2 separate regions of the Homo sapiens genome follow, and region 2 is linked to region 1. The links are contacts of gene promoters, found by promoter capture Hi-C in blood cells and fetal thymus (Javierre and others, 2016). All regions are on one chromosome and are shown on one strand. The core of a region is centred on a gene start or on the middle of the fragment in contact, and the rest is flanking DNA. Distances in the headings are between cores, read along the strand shown.

The links. The method cuts DNA at HindIII sites, captures the fragments that hold promoters and counts their contacts. A CHiCAGO score of 5 or more calls a contact.
Region 2: a contact is called between a fragment that was not itself captured here and the fragment with the promoter of ARPC1A in region 1, in 14 of 17 cell types (M2 macrophages, megakaryocytes, endothelial precursors and 11 more). The highest score is 14.7, in M2 macrophages.

Annotation. Positions count from the first base shown.
Region 1 is chr7:99,324,380-99,327,529 of GRCh38, forward strand. It overlaps ARPC1A (actin related protein 2/3 complex subunit 1A), which reads left to right and starts at 1,519. Exons shown (of 10, transcript NM_006409.4): 1 at 1,519-1,625. It overlaps LOC105375421 (a long non-coding RNA gene), which reads right to left and starts at 1,429. Exons shown (of 4, transcript XR_927798.3): 1 at 1,135-1,429. RefSeq lists an enhancer at 1,085-1,644 and a silencer at 1,620-1,799. The HindIII fragment of the contact is 5,893 bases long and covers 1-3,150 here.
Region 2 is chr7:99,057,952-99,061,101 of GRCh38, forward strand. It overlaps SMURF1 (SMAD specific E3 ubiquitin protein ligase 1), which reads right to left. Exons shown (of 18, transcript NM_181349.3): 3 at 2,648-2,756. Among named protein-coding and RNA genes, the nearest start is that of SMURF1, 85 kb to the right of the region's middle. The HindIII fragment of the contact is 4,291 bases long and covers 1-3,150 here.

The DNA.
Region 1 (3,150 bases), core at 269-2,768:
CCTAGCACTTTGGGAGGCTGAGGCAGGCGGGATCACCTGAAGTCAGGAGTTCGACACCAGCGTCGCCAACATTGCAAAACCCCGTCTATACTAAAAATACAAAAATTAGCCGGGCATGGTGGCGCGCAGCTGTAGTCCCAGCTACTCGGGAGGCTGAGGCAGGAGAATCGCTTGAACCCGGGAGGCGGAGGTTACAGTGAGCCGAGATCGCGCCACTGCACTCCAGCTTGGGCGACAGAGAAAGGCTCCGTCTCAAAAAGATCACAGCGGGTCTGAAATTGAGAGTTTGACAAGTATACCTACATAAACCTCACCTTACAATACCAAAGGGAAGGAGACAAGCCCTTGGTTGGCCTGGCATGGCGCTGGGCGGCGGCGGGGGGGAGCTCACATCGCTTTGGGAAGCAGAGGCTAGAGGATTGCTTGAGCCCAGGGGTTCAAGACCAGCCTGGACAACATAGGAAAACCTCATCTTTACAAAAAATATAAAAATTAGCCAGGCACAGTGGCTCACACCTGTAATCTGAGGGCTTTGAGAGGCCAAAGAGGGACGATCGCTTGAGCCCAGGAGTTCAAGACCAGCCTAAGCAACACAGCAAGACCCTGTCTCTACCAAAAAATAAAAATTAGCCAGGCGTGGTGGTGTGCACTTGTAGTCCCAGCTCCACGGGGGGCTGAGGCGGGAGGATCGCTTGAGCCCAGGGGTTCCAGGCTGCAGTTAGCTATGATCGCGCCACTGCACTCCAGCCTGGGCTACAGGTTGAGAACCTGTCTAAAAAAAAAGAAAAAAGAAAAGCTCTCGATTAGCCCCATCTGTGGGGGCTGGGGATGCTCCAGAATTTCTAGGGTTCAAGGGCAGCAGCCTGATTGCAGGTGGGGATCAGGGCATTTCTTGGAGGCTGCATCTGCGGGGCAGGCTCTGTCCTCTGTGAATTGGGGGCCTTGCCAAGTTCCCCCAACCCTTTTATCCCTGCTGCGCCATCTTGGGAGCAGGGAACTGCTTGGGAGCAGGGGATTCTGTCCCAGGAAGGGTCGAGAAAGTTCCTGGGGGGCTTCAGGGGCTTTCCACAGAGGGAGCACGGCGGGGGCGGAGGCTCCCTGCAGGGAGCAGCGCTGAGGTAGACTGGCTCTGACCTTGGCTCTCTGAAGGGAGAAAAACTTAATCGTTCTTCAGGTCCAAGAGCTCCAAAGACCCCCAATCCTCAGTAACTCATCTCCTGACAAAAGACCTTGCGAAACTGCCAAAGCGCCACACTTCGGCTCGCGATTGTGAGGAAATTGGTTGAGGAACGGAGTGGGACGCCCATGCCGCTTCGCCAGCACTTGCCAGGCGTTCCGTGGGGCAGCATCTCCTCTGAAGGGCCGCCGACAGTACCACGCCAATGGAACGGCGTACCCTCCTCCACTGCAGCCTGCCTAACCCCGGACTGCGCGCCCGAGCTGTGCGCATGCGCGGACCGTCCGCGCGGTCGCAACGCGCAGGCGCCGTGTCCACTTCCGGGATCTGTCAGCCGCTCCCTCTGGGCTTCCGTCCTCCGCCCGCGCCCGACGGAGCCTGTTCGCGTCGACTGCCCAGAGTCCGCGAATCCTCCGCTCCGAGCCCGTCCGGACTCCCCCGATCCCAGGTAACGGCCAGCAGGGGCGAGCGTCTCACCCTGTCGGCCTCTCTTGTCCAGGCCTGGCGCCGGACTTGCCGCGGGGGCAGTGAGACGGGGGCTCAGGCCGCGGGGCCCCGAGGCTGAGGCGCGGCCGGGTCTCCCTGCCGGGGCCTCCTGAGGGGGCGGGGATCCCCTTTCTCCGTGGATCCCCTGCAGCTTTTCTCAGGATGTTCGAGCTCCTAGCCGCCTCCGATGCCCGAATTAACGGCCCCTTCTGCGCCCCCAGGGTCCTACTTGCACCTCTGCTGGGGGCATTTGTCACCGTCTCTAAAATTGTGTCAAGTAGGAGGATCTCCCGTAATCGAGCGACCCGCGGGACTATTCATCTCTTTAGTGTCTAGAGTCGATCCCTGCATACAGTAGGCGCCCATAGGATGTTTGCCTGCTCTCTAGGGCAGCCCTCAATCCTTCGGTTAATGGGGAACCTTCTCGATCTCGAGAAAAACCTTCTCCCGAGTTCTTTTAAGATTTCCCTGCATGAGTACCGCCTTCCCCCAAGTCAAAATTGCACCCTTCTCGGCGCTCTTATTCATTTAGTGGAATCTTTTATGCCAGTCCTGGCACCACCACTTTGTTGAGTGATCCTGGGAAGATGCTTCTCTGCGCCTGTTTCCTCATCTGCAATAAAAAGATTCTTACCGTTTTGCTAAGAATCAAGTGAGCTTATTTGCATAAATTGCTTAGAATAGTTCCTGGCCGAGAGTAGGTGATCAATAAATATTAGCTATTATTACTGCTTCTGGGCATTCTATGCATATCCGTCTTCCTTTCCTTTTCTATCTCCTCCACTCTCCCCAAACACCAACCCTCCAGACTTGAAGACCAGAATGGTGTCAGCCTTATTTATGTTTCTAGCCCCATCCCGGTATTTACAACACTGCTGGGAACATGATAGGCACTTAATCAGTTATAGCTTAGAATCTTTGATTATAAAGCCATCTGTTCTCCTGCAGCTTTGGAACCTTCTGTCTATGTCAACTCGTAGCTTAAATTGCCGAGATTATCTTAGTTCTGCCCTCTCTCCTCAATTTTATCTAGTCTTGTGGTTTCACATAGGGCCTGGGTTTTCAGGTATCTAAAAACAGAGGAGGGGCATCAGTCAGGAAGGTGTTTTTGTCCTGTTAGGGAGTGGGTAACTGTGGTTGTTGTCTTCCTTTTTTTTTTTTTTCCTGCAGCCTCGACCTCCTGGGCTTAACAGATCCTCCCACCTCAGCCTCCTGAGTAGCTGGGACTACAGGCGTGTGCCACCACACTGGGCTAATTTTCATTTATTTTTATTTACTTATTTTTGGAGATAGAGTCTCACTCTGTCACCCAGACTGGAGTGCAGTGGTGTGATCTTGGCTCACTGCAACCTCCACCTCCTGGGTTCAAGCGATTCTCCTGCCTCAGCCTCCCGAGTAGCTGTGACTACAGGCATGAGCCACTGCGCCTGGCTAATTTTTTTTTTTTTTTTGTATTTTTTGTAAAGACAGGGTCTCCATATGTGGCC
Region 2 (3,150 bases), core at 315-2,814, 270 kb before region 1:
TTATAAAATAATGTTGCCTCTGTATTACACATGTAACAGGCATTTAATAAATACGTATCCATTAATTTCAACAAGCTGGGAAGAAGAACTACCTTGCTCCTTATGGAAGGGGCAAATGTAGATAACCACACGATGATAATAATCTTATAACAGACTTACTATATTTTATTTATTTTTATTTATTTTTTTATTTTTTTGAGACGGAATTTTGCTCTTGTCGCCCAGGCCGGAGTGCAATGGCGCAGTGTTAGCTCACTGCAACCTGTCTCCTGGGTTCAAGGAATTCTCCTGCCTCAGCCTCCCCAGCAGCTGAGATTACAGGCACCTGCCACCACACCTGGCTAATTTTTGTATTTTTAGTAGAGACGGGGTTTCACCATGTTGGCCAGGCTGGTCTCAACCTCCTGACCTCAGGTGATCTTCCTGCCTCGGCCTCCCAAAGTGCTTAGATTACAGGTGTGAGCCACTGCACCCAGCAAATTTACTATATTTTAATAGTCGCATAGGACAGTAACATGATTCATAAATTCTCACCAATTAGGTTTGATACAGAATACTGGTTTGCGACAAGGGACTACTTACAAACCTACGGATCTATTCAAAGTACACAAGAGGACACTAAGACATTAAACCTCCATTTACTGTCACTGCAAGTCAACGGAGAGAGGAACTCAACCCACTTACACAGCCTCAGTGTCACTGAAACTGAATCTTAGAATATAATTCTTAAAAATCCCACCCAAATACAGTATAATTTGTATTAACTAAAAGACAATAATCTTTCAGGATTACTTTGATGAAAATATCTTAGTAGGAACATGAAAACATGGGTGCATATAAAATAGTGGTCTTCACAGCCAGGTGCAGTGGCTCACGCCTATAATCCCAGCACTTCAGGAGGCCAAGGTGGATCACCTGAGGTCAGAAGGTCAAGACCAGCCTGGCCAACATGGTGAAACCCATCTCTACTAAAAATATAAAAATTAGCCAGGCATGGTGGCGGGTACCTGTAATCCCAGCTACTCGGGAGGCTGAAGATCGAGAATCGCTTGAACCCAGCAGGAGGAGGTTGCGGTGAGCCAAGATTGCGCCACTGCGCTCCAGCCTGGGCAACAGAGCGAGACTCTGTTTGAAAAAAAAATTTAATTTAATTTAAAAATAAAATAGGCCGGGCGCGGTGGCTCACGCCTGTAATCCCAGCACTTTGGGAGGCCGAGGCGGGCGGATCACGAGGTCAGGAGATCGAGACCATCCCGGCTAAAACGGTGAAACCCCGTCTCTACTAAAACTACAAAAAATAGCCGGGCGTAGTGGCGGGCGCCTGTAGTCCTAGCTACTTGGGAGGCTGAGGCAGGAGAATGGCGTGAACCCGGGAGGCGGAGCTTGCAGTGAGCCGAGATCCCGCCACTGCACTCCAGCCTGGGCGACAGAGCAAGACTCCATCTCAAAAAAAAATAAAATAAAATAAAATAAAATAAAATAAAATAAAATAAAATAAAATAAAATAAAATAAAATAGTGGTCTTCAAAGTACAATCCAGTTTTTGAATGACTATAAGAAATTGATGGCTTTGATCATATAAAACTATATTTTCTCTTGCAGAAAATATATATGTACTAAAAAGCAAAAATTTTCAAAGTCAACAGAAACATACAGTCATAATAATGAATTTTTTAGGCCTGGTACAGTGGCTCACGCCTGTAATCCCAGAACTTTGGGAGGCTGAGGCGGGTGGATCATGAGGTCAGGAGTTCGAGACCAGCCTGGCCAAGATGGTGAAACCCCGTCTCAACTAAAAATACAAAAATTAGTTGGGCATGCTGGCGGATGCCTGTAATTCCAGCTACTTGGGAGGCTGAGGCAGGAGAATCACTTGAATCCAGGAGGTGGAGGTCACAGTGAGCCGAGATCGCGCCACTGCACACTCTAGCCTGGGCGACAAAGCAAGACTCCATCTCAAAAAAAAAAAAAATGCATTTTTTAGGTAGAAACTACAACTAGGTTTAGGGTTTTGCTGAAAAACAGTAGCATGTGGAGTTCACAAACTATGGCCTTTTTTTCTGCTAAAATGGCCAGGAGATTGAAAAGTTTGAGGATCACATGTACAAAACCAAACCATAAAAATCTATGAACATGCCAAATGCAGTCGGGCGCAGTGGCTCACGCCTGTAATCCCAACACTTTGGGAGGCTAAGGTGGGCAGATCACTTGAGGTCAGGAGTTCAAGACCAGCCTGGCCAACATGGTGAAACCCCATCTCTACTAAAAAATACAAAAATTAGCTGGGCATGGTGGCATATGTCCATAATCCCAGCTACTTGGGAGGCTGAGGTAGGAGAATCACTTGTACCCGGGAGGCGGAGGTTGCAGTGAGCTGAGATCACGCCACCGCACTCCAGCCTGGGTGACAGAGTGAGACTCCGTCTCAAAAAAAAAAAAAAAAAAAGAAAAAAGAAAGTAACAAAATGCAAGAACTTCCAAGTACATGAATTCTAAAATTAGGCAATGTAGACATTCATTTGGCCATCCGCTTTTGTTATCAATAAAAAGTCATCCTTTTTTTTTTTTTCTCTTGGATGTTTCTCGTAAAAGGTAGACACCTGCTTTCCTGCCGCTCCGCATGGGGCTTACAGAACATTCAACTCACAGATCATAGTGCTGGTTCCACTTTGGGTCCAATGTGTTTTTCACAGTGTCGGTTGAGTGGCACTGCCCAGACCCATCCACGACAATCTTTGCAAAAGGGTCAGGGAGCCCTAGAGGAGAGAGGAGACCCACACCTAGATGAGACCTCACATCCATCCATGTGACACAGAACACACAATTCGTGTTCTCTAATTTCAGGATAATTTCAATCAGCAAAATAAGTTATGTCTATTGAGCTTTCTAAGAGAGCCTAGTATGCCTCCATACTCAGATTTTTAGAGGGTAGAAAAGAAAGTGACTGAAAAAAAAAAAGGCTTACATTCAAATTTCTATTAAAGTGGGGCTAATTAAGTGGAGGGAAAAGTGTCTGAAAGTAATTGTATTTAGACTTTCTAAAAATTAATAATGCCCCGAAATTTGTTTACTGATCTTTGCCTATCTTATCTATGGAAGCAAGTATTCACCAGGCCTTAATTCGGTAAGTCCCTAAATGCTAGAGAATGA